Linked DNA regions of Homo sapiens: region 2 is linked to region 1. Evidence: promoter capture Hi-C in human tissues and cell types (Jung and others, 2019). All regions are on one chromosome and are shown on one strand. Each heading gives the region's core, a stretch centred on a gene start or on the middle of the fragment in contact. The rest is flanking DNA. Distances are from core to core; before and after follow the strand shown.

Evidence for each region. The method cuts DNA at HindIII sites, captures the fragments that hold promoters and counts their contacts. A contact is called where the count stands out against the background at its distance.
Region 2: a fragment that was not itself captured here is called in contact with the fragment with the promoter of MPEG1 in region 1 in 1 of the 25 tissues and cell types used here (pancreas).

The regions. Positions count from the first base shown.
Region 1 is chr11:59,210,762-59,215,927 of GRCh38, reverse strand. MPEG1 (macrophage expressed 1) reads left to right here and starts at 3,001. Exons shown (of 1, transcript NM_001039396.2): 1 at 3,001-5,166. The coding sequence starts at 3,063. It also overlaps the pseudogene RN7SL42P. RefSeq lists an enhancer at 2,825-3,024. The HindIII fragment of the contact is 9,754 bases long and covers 1-5,166 here.
Region 2 is chr11:59,062,771-59,067,936 of GRCh38, reverse strand. No RefSeq gene overlaps it. Among named protein-coding and RNA genes, the nearest start is that of GLYATL1-AS1, 6.9 kb to the right of the region's middle. The HindIII fragment of the contact is 5,883 bases long and covers 1-5,166 here.

The sequences.
Region 1 (5,166 bases), core at 1,752-4,251:
CAGAATAACTCCATCTCGAATAGGGGCTGGGTAAAAGAAGGCTGGGCTGCATTCCCAGAGGGTTAAGTATTCTAAGTCATGGGATGAGATAGAAGATTGGCATAAGATACAGATACAGATCACAAAGATCTTTCTGATAAAAGAGCATGCAGTAAAGAAGGCAGCCAAAACCCACCAAAACTAAGATGGCGACAAGAGTGAACTCTGGTCATCCTCATTGTTCATTATACACTAATTGTAGTGCATTCGCATGCTAAAAGATGTTTCCACCAGTGCCATGACTGCCAATTTCCAGAAGTTACCCTGTATAGTCTAAAAAGGAGAGGAACCCTTAGTTCTGGGAATTGCCCACCTCTTTCCCAGAAAACTCATGATTAATCCACCCCTTGTTTAGCATATAATTAAGAAATAATGATAAGTATCCTTAATCAAGCAGCACATACTTCTGCTCTGCCTATGGAGTAGCCATTCTTTTGTTTCTTTACTTCTCTAATAAACTTACTTTCACCTTACTCTGTGGACTTGCCCTGGTCCTTCTTGCACAAAGTCCAAGAACTCTCTCTTGAGGTCTGCATTGGGAACCCTTTCCAGTAACATTATGGCATAAGAATTTCTCATGTTATTAAAATAGTTTTAAATAATTGTGATGGCTATACAATATTTTGTCTTATGGGTACAATGTAATTTTACCGTTGTTGGCTCTTTCTGCTATTTTCAATTTTTTTTTCCTATGATAAAATGAAGACAAAGTCTATAGAATAAAAAATACAGTGACTAGACGTCTGGAGACATAGGAACACCTGAATATAGAATTGTCTGTATTAACCTTGCTTGTATTCTCATTTCAGGAGAGTGAGCTCTCAACAGGGTCTACTAAAGAGAAAGCAGAGGGTAACAAATTGTCAGCTTGTCTCCAAAGCAGTGTGAGAGTATTCTAATTTTGATGAACCATCCCAGAAATAGTTTGAAGAGAAGTATGTAGGTATTTCAACAGACTTATTGGAAGTACTCAAGGGCATTCAACTCTCATTTTTCTAATTCTGGGATCATGCTGCTGAGGTATAAATTTATGGCTAACTGATTTATAAATTAACTAGAACATCCTGTGCAAAGATTTGGTTCTTTAGCCAAATACAGACTAGGCACTGGTTCATAAATTAATCCCTCTTAGGTGGCTGGTGTCACTTCCCAGAAGCATGATAACTGTGGCACAAATAGAACCAGAATGGCCAGGTGTGGTGGTGCATGACTGCAGTCCCAGATTCCTGGGAAGCTGATGTGGGAGGATTGCTTGAATCCATGAGTTCTGGGCTGTAGTGTGCTATGCCAGTTGGGTGTCTGCACTAAGCTCAGCATCAATATGGTGGCCTCCTTGGAGCAAATCACCAGGTTGCCTAAGGAGGGCTAAACGGGTCCAGGTTGGAAATGGAGCAGGTCAAAACTCCTATGCTGATTAGTAGTGGGACCATGCCTGTGAATAGCTACTGCACTCAAGCCTGGGCAATAAGCAAGACCCTGTCTTGGAAAAAAAAATATACCCGGAATGCAGTATTTCTAGATTTATAGAACACCATCATGGTTTTGATAATAACTGGTGAAGCCCAGCCTGGGAAGCAAGATAACTAGCCTCATTCTTTCTAAAAACACTTCTTTGCTGCATTAATAACCAACAGAGGAATTCAACTCCTTGGAACCTTCCTTCCAGGATGCATACAGGTGATGGTGTAGTGATACCTGTGAATTGCAACATGACTTTTTCAGTCTCAGTACTGTATCTAGTTCATGGTATAATCTTGGGAATGTTAAGGATGCAACTGGGAGCTTCACTAAGTCCTCTGGATTCCCTGGCTACCACTAAGCATACTAAGACATAGCCTAATTGTCCCAAAGAATTAACAGAGTTGGGTTTCAATCAAACCTGTCACCATTGTTTTAAATTATGGGCTCTAATAGAGCTGGCATTGGAACTTGAAAAGAAACTCATGTAATTATATTCTTCTAATGATATAGCAAATGAATTTTTGCTTTTAGAAAAAATATTGGGTAGTGAAGAGCCACATTCTTTTTTATCCACCTAAACTGATTACACACACTTAGCAATGGAACAAAAAATTAAAGGTATAACAGGTACCAACTTCATACAAAATGCACACACACAGAGGATATATAAATGTGTGTACACATACACATATGTTCCTTGGCCCCTGTCTGCTGTTGATAAATCAAAATCTAGATAATAGTGTGGTTTTGTCTTGAACATTTCTATCTGAATGAAAACAACACAGTGTAGGAGTTCCTTGCCCTCGCTTTGAATGCTTAGGACAATGCAAATTGGGGTTTCCCAGCATATTGCAACCGAATCCTCTTCAGGCCCTGTCAGCTGTGCTCCAGACAATGCCATCCCCAAAGACAGAATTGCTATGGTTCATAACAGTGAAACCCACAGGACAAGTGTCCAAGAGTTTCACTCCTTTCTTTTGTGGAAACAGCCTCCACCCTCAGGCAAAGAGGAAACCCAGGGTTGGCCTTGACTAACAGCTTGCATAGGTATGGTGGAGCCAGGGTGTTTCAGTAAGGGTGGTGTGGTCATTTGCCTCTGCATTTATAGTAAAAGAAAACTGATAATGGAGTCCCAAGAGACAGCAGTCAGGGAAAATATGAAACATCAAGTCCAAGAGAATGAGCAAAAAGCAAAGCCAAACTTTCTGGTGGAGGAAGCAGTAGGGTGTGGGGTCGGGATTTTTTTCTAAGTGCACACCCCTGCAGCAGAGTAACCAGCCAGAGCTGGGGGAAAAATTAGGATAGCTACCTGTTAGGCATGTAGGGGTGTGTTTGCATGTTTAGTACGGCATAAATTCTTCAAAGACCTGATGGTCTTTAATATTCCAACCAACTCTCGTTTCCCCATTTTGTCATTAAATTAGCTTAAAGAGGAACTTGTAGCTTTTAGAGAACTCATGAGTTTTCCGCTTCATCATCTGCTTCTGTTTTCTCCATCTTAGTTTGCCCAAAGCTTGCTGGCCGCTGTGTAGGGCTGGTGAGTGGCTGGGGCTGTCTGAGCCATGAACAACTTCAGGGCCACCATCCTCTTCTGGGCAGCGGCAGCATGGGCTAAATCAGGCAAGCCTTCGGGAGAGATGGACGAAGTTGGAGTTCAAAAATGCAAGAATGCCTTGAAACTACCTGTCCTGGAAGTCCTACCTGGAGGGGGCTGGGACAATCTGCGGAATGTGGACATGGGACGAGTTATGGAATTGACTTACTCCAACTGCAGGACAACAGAGGATGGACAGTATATCATCCCTGATGAAATCTTCACCATTCCCCAGAAACAGAGCAACCTGGAGATGAACTCAGAAATCCTGGAATCCTGGGCAAATTACCAGAGTAGCACCTCCTACTCCATCAACACAGAACTCTCTCTTTTTTCCAAAGTCAATGGCAAGTTTTCCACTGAGTTCCAGAGGATGAAGACCCTCCAAGTGAAGGACCAAGCTATAACTACCCGAGTTCAGGTAAGAAACCTCGTCTACACAGTCAAAATCAACCCAACTTTAGAGCTAAGCTCAGGTTTTAGGAAGGAACTCCTTGACATCTCTGACCGTCTAGAGAACAACCAGACGAGGATGGCCACCTACCTGGCAGAACTCCTGGTGCTCAACTATGGCACCCACGTCACCACCAGTGTCGACGCTGGGGCTGCTCTTATTCAGGAGGACCACCTCAGGGCCTCCTTCCTCCAAGACAGCCAGAGCAGTCGTAGTGCCGTGACCGCCTCTGCTGGACTTGCCTTTCAAAACACCGTGAACTTCAAATTTGAGGAAAACTATACCTCGCAGAATGTCCTCACCAAGAGCTACCTCTCAAACCGAACCAACTCCAGGGTGCAGAGCATTGGAGGGGTTCCTTTTTACCCAGGCATCACCCTCCAGGCCTGGCAGCAGGGTATCACCAACCACCTGGTGGCCATCGACCGCTCTGGCCTGCCGCTGCATTTCTTCATCAACCCCAACATGCTACCTGACTTGCCAGGCCCCCTGGTGAAGAAGGTGTCAAAGACAGTGGAAACTGCTGTGAAGCGCTATTATACATTCAACACCTACCCTGGCTGCACAGATCTCAATTCTCCCAACTTCAATTTTCAGGCCAACACGGATGATGGCTCCTGCGAGGGGAAAATGACCAACTTCTCTTTCGGTGGGGTTTATCAGGAATGCACTCAGCTCTCAGGGAATAGGGATGTCCTCCTCTGCCAAAAGTTGGAGCAGAAGAATCCACTCACTGGTGATTTCTCCTGCCCCTCTGGCTACTCCCCGGTGCACCTGTTATCCCAGATCCACGAGGAGGGTTACAACCACCTGGAGTGTCATCGAAAGTGCACTCTCCTCGTCTTCTGCAAGACCGTGTGTGAAGATGTGTTCCAGGTGGCAAAAGCTGAATTTAGGGCTTTTTGGTGTGTGGCCAGCAGCCAAGTACCTGAAAACTCAGGACTGCTTTTTGGGGGCCTCTTCAGCAGCAAGAGCATAAACCCCATGACAAATGCACAGTCATGCCCAGCCGGCTACTTTCCACTGAGACTCTTTGAAAACCTCAAGGTATGTGTTTCTCAGGACTATGAGTTGGGAAGCAGGTTTGCGGTCCCCTTTGGCGGGTTCTTTAGCTGCACAGTTGGGAACCCCCTGGTAGATCCTGCTATATCCAGAGATTTAGGGGCACCGTCTCTGAAAAAGTGCCCCGGGGGCTTCAGCCAGCACCCAGCCCTCATCAGCGATGGATGCCAAGTGTCCTATTGCGTCAAATCCGGGCTCTTCACAGGAGGGTCCCTGCCCCCTGCCAGGCTCCCACCTTTCACCCGGCCACCCCTCATGAGTCAGGCTGCCACCAATACTGTCATAGTGACCAATTCTGAGAATGCGAGATCCTGGATTAAAGACTCCCAGACCCACCAGTGGAGGCTGGGAGAACCGATAGAGCTGCGGAGGGCCATGAATGTCATCCATGGGGATGGTGGTGGTCTGTCAGGAGGGGCTGCAGCTGGGGTCACAGTGGGGGTCACCACCATTCTGGCTGTTGTTATCACCTTGGCCATCTACGGCACCCGGAAGTTCAAGAAGAAAGCATATCAGGCAATTGAGGAAAGGCAGAGTTTGGTTCCAGGCACTGCAG
Region 2 (5,166 bases), core at 1,271-3,770, 150 kb after region 1:
ATGGCGTGAACCCAGAAGGCAGAGCTTTCAGTAAGCCGAGATCGTGGGGCTGCACTACAGCCTGGGCAACACAGCGAGACTCCGTCTCAAAAAAAAAAAAAAAAAATCACGTGATTAGTGGCAACTGTCTTGAACAAAATAGCCCTGGGCATTTTAACATTAATATTTAACTTAACAAAGTCTAAAGTGAATTAAATAACTCCTCCTAAGCGATACAGAGATAAAGTCGGCAAACGCGTCTCCTCTATTTACAGAAGAAAATCCAAAAACCTACACATGGATTTCAAAGAAGTAGGAGATACTGCAGCTATTTTCCAGAAAGCTATTCTACCTCTCTCACACTTTTTAGGAGCCATACATGTATGGAAATGAATTCATGACAGCTTAAGAATATCTATATGTGCCCTCGGAGTCACAAGGTTTTGTGCTGAAATGGGTGAGCTACTTAAGTTGGGACAATAAGATGGCAAAGAGAAGTTTCCTCAGGAAACCAGGGTAGACTCATTATCGGGAGAGTAACACATCCGATATTACTGCAGCTGTATTTGTCACTATGCAGAAAGCCAGCCAGGGGATAACATGAAAAGCAGAACATAGAGACTGAACACACAAACAAGTCCTCAAAGAAACTGTATACTACTGAATTAAGAGCTCTGCTGAATTCTGGAATGTCCACTCAGGTGAACCAATGAATCCATTTTATTGTTTCACAAGTAGAAAATATTTTTACTGTCAATATGAAAAGCTCTTATTGATATAAAGCCTACTGTGATCTTGGCACCACACTACCTTACCAGTATAGAAAGCATTATTTGCCTACCACATTCTTGAATTCTCCTTACATAGCATCAAATGCAGCTATCCTGTTCCCCAAATATGTTTTCCTGTGTACATGACTTTACTCAGGCCATTCCTTCATCCTTGATACACTAGTGAAATGTTATTCATTCTTTTTAAAAAATAAATTAGTTTTAGACATACCAAATGCATAATTAATGTACATAATTAGTGTATACAACTTGATGAATGTGAAGATACATGATCACCACATTCTATGACATCGACCTATCTATCACCTCCCAAAGTCTCTTCCTGCCCTCTTATTTATTATTTTTGTAATAAGAACACAACATAAAATCTATCATTTTAGCAAGAATTTGAGTGCACAATAGTGTTAACTATTGGCACTCATGCTGTTCAGATCCCTACAACTTATTCACCTTGTGTAAGGAAACTTTGTATCCCTTGACTAACACTTCCATTTTTCTCTCTTCCCAGCCCAGCAACCACTTCTACATCTATGAGTTTGACAATTTTAGATTTATTTTTCATTAATAAATCATTTCTCATATGATGCTGCTGTAGTTTCCTTAGTCTGAATTAAGTATTCTTCTCTCTGTACTCTAAAATCACTTGTTTATATCTCAATTTAGTATTATCATTTTGCATATTTTGAGCAAAATAGTGTGGGTCAAAAACCAGTCTCTGTAGTCTGACTGCCTAGGTTAAGATCCTTGCTTTGAAGTCCGTTACTTCTGCAACTATAAGCAAGTTGAGCTTCAGTTTCTTCTTTTGTAAAATAAGTATGATAATAACTACTGCACAGTTCTATTAACTGTTAAATGGGATAATCCATATGATGGGACACAATTCCAGGCACACAGTGTTTCCTCAGAAAACATTAGCTAATTATTTTTGCCTGTCTATACTTTCCATGATTTTAAGTGTCTATATTATTTGTTAGTCATCTTGTTGTCTTAAGACACGTTTAGCATTATTAACTCATACTCTATCATTATGCTTTCCACAAGCACTTATGTGTATGAGCTACCCAAATATATTTTAAACTACCTAAGAGAAAGGCTTATAACGACCATTGTTTAAGAACTTATCTCCAAGAACCTCATATGGCACTATGGTTAGACTATCACTCCTCTGAGGAGTTGTAAAAAAGTAGATATACCTTTGAAACTTCAGGTCTAGTCCTCGGGTCATCTTTTGTGGCACTAAGTGACTTGTTTTCTTCAGTCTTCATGGAATTCATGATGAATTCGAAGAGAATATAACTAATATTTACTAGTGGATAAGATGGAGAAACAAGGATTGAGTTCATTCTGCCACATGAAATGTCTAAAAAAAACCCAAAAAGGAAAGATCTGTGAAATAACAACTCTCAATCATTGGACATCAGGCTGTGTGGGACCTCATCTCTGATATCTGAGAAGAAAATCATATGAGGTAAGCCCTGTGGCTATTTAGGTTACTGTATGGAGTTTCCAAGGCATATCTTAGGCAAGAGAACAGGCAGAGTCTAGCAGTTTCCCTGAGTTGAGAAGACAAGCTTGGAGTTTTGGGAGGCCAGGCTGACTGGAGCTTGTATGGCAGAGTACTAGGGAGAAGAGAGCCACAGGAGCACATAGTATCAGAGATCTGCAGTGGGTATCCCTTGAGATTTCAGCTTGGTCAATGCATGAGTGGAATAAAGCTGTTGAAAAGGAACAGGAAAAAGAAGTACCCAAAAGGAGCAGATGTAACAATTTCTGAGGCTCATACAGGACAGGGAATAGATTCAGTTCACAAAAATCTGACTAGAAAATTTCACAATTCATGAAATATCAGAGAGACTACTCTGAAAGGTATTTCTTCCACAGTGGGACAAAATTAGCCCTAGTTCTGCTCCCACCTAACAAATAAAAGCAAACTTTGAAATTATAAAATGGTTTCCATGTAAAATATCAAGGTACTAAAATAAAGTTCAAGAATATTGATGGGAAGGTAAAAATTTCTGGCACCCAAAGTTGTGAAATTAACAAAGCTTGATATCTAATAAAACAATCAGCAAGCATTTAAGAAGTGGATAAATATGACCCATAATGACTAGGAACATCAGTGAATAGAGACAGATCCAGAAGTGAGAGAGATGATGGAACTAGTAGTCAGAAATATTAAAAGTCATTACCTTGAATTTCTGGCCAAAATGGAAGAACAGGGACTGGATTTCCCCCTAGTCTGAAAGCAAAACAAAACAAAAATGGGCAAAATATATGAAACAACGCTTTGCGAGGAACTGGACATCATGCAATTAAGGATAGTGACAACTGAGATGCATCCTACAATCCACGCTAGCAGACTAACTTGAAGGATTCCAGGCCAGTGTCGCAAGGAAGGGCAGCAAGACAAAGCCAGTTGGAATTCTAGATTTGAGGAGACAAAGCGGAGAGACCAGGGTGGCAAGAGGTCACGGGCCACAGACCCTGGTGGGAGACCTGCACAGAGAGGGAACTCCGGATATATGAAGAGGGTTCCCCTAAAGCATTCAGCTGCGTACTGATCAGAGCAGCAGCTGAGAAAACTTCCCAAGGCCAGGAAAGAACCACCCTAAAACTGTCATAGTCTAACTTTCCTCCAACCCTCTCCCTGTAACCCTTTTGGGGATCCCCGTTTTCTCATTTCTAGATTAAGGTCTTTGGCTCAGATGAAACTTTTATTGTTCGTGTGAATTGGTTCCTCTGAGCTTTTTAAAAAGGATTCCAGATCCCACCCTCACAGACTCTGATTCAGTATGTCGGGGTGTGGCTATGGAATCTGCATTTTTACCTGCCTCACTCCACAACCCCTGCCTCAAACTCGCACCAAGTTCTTTGAACAGCTGCCTCTGTCACCGCAGGATGACCTCAATGCTTTCCTAAAGCCCCAGAACCAATTAAGGTAACCTGTGCTTGAAGCTGTGCTTGCTTACAGAAACAGAGACTGGATGTCAGTAACCACCGTGCTACAAGATGGGAAACGAACTTAGAAGCGCTACCCTAACCTGAATCCTCAATTGCTAATTACCATACCTCAATCTGTGCCTACGGGAGAAATGCAGCTTGCTAGGCACATGTAGTGTTGGGCGGCAACAGCAAATAGGAGACTGCCACACTCAGCTGGTTCTGGAAAGCCCCATCTCTTTCCAGGAATCCTTGCTTTCCAACTACGTGCCCTAAAAGACCTTAAGGAGCACCCCCACACTACACCCCAGGCACTTTGAGCAGGAGCTCTCCTACTCCATTCCTTGATCAGTGAATAGTTTCTGCTCTGCTTAACCGAACCTGGTCTCCTTCTACGGGCGAGAAAGGCACCGGGTAGGGAAAGGACCCACCAGGGTCAAACGACCCTCTTGAGATTCAGGAACACCCAGATGATCTCCAAGTATCTTTTCAGGAGTACAACTCTTGGCCTTTGAAGCTGAGACGGGAAGGGAATTACAACGGGCGGCTGCCCAGCTCCCCATCCAAAACCTCCTTGACTTTGGGCTGAGGTCCTTCTGCCTACTGCCCTTGTCAGCCATCCTCTTAAGAACTCCAGGTCCGACCCGGGAAAAGAAAAACCACTCATAGAACTGGAGAGTCTGTCCACACGGTGCACGTGCCCGTCAGTGCCCACCGCTCTGGATTCACAGGTGCTGGAAAGTCTGCTCTCTTATATCTCTCAGCTGAACTTTTCCCGCCTAGAAGGGCTCGCCCGCGTGCGGCAGGAGCCTGGGAATTGACACTCTCACTGGCCAATGGACGAAGAGTCTCTGGAGGCTGTTTTTCCCTCATTGGATGTAAATGACTCATCTCTCATCCACTTTGGAAGCCAATTATCATCACTCCAGACAGTGAAGGGAAGGGAAGGATGAGAGCACACGCCTGCGCGCGCGCGGGTGGGTCTGAAGGCCGGGCGGAGGGCACTGCGCGCCCACCCGCACCCCTCCTTATTTGTCTGGATGACCCTTCCCGGTCTCAGTGATCCCCTCTCCGCGCCACTCAGTCCACGGGGACAGCTCCCGCGTCCCAGGATAAACTAAGCAATCACTGCCCTGCTCCTTCCTTCTCATGGGAGTCCCCTGTCTCCCAGTGGAAGCCAGGGAGGAGCTGCGCGGCAGCTGGGCGGAGTGCGAGGCACGTGGCGCTTTCGCGCTTTCCCAGACTTTTGATTGCCAGCTTGGGCAGCGCGCTGGCGGGAGCTGCAGGGCGAATAGCCAGCCAAGTTGCTTAGGTGTGTGGCAGTTGCTGCCATTCTGCAGCTGCGGGGTGGGCGACGGTGGCGGGATGAGCATCCAGGCGGGATCCTTTGGCAGCAGCAGAGAGAGCTCCACCCGGATGATGCAGAGGCTCAGGCTCCAGCGGACTTCAAGTCCCA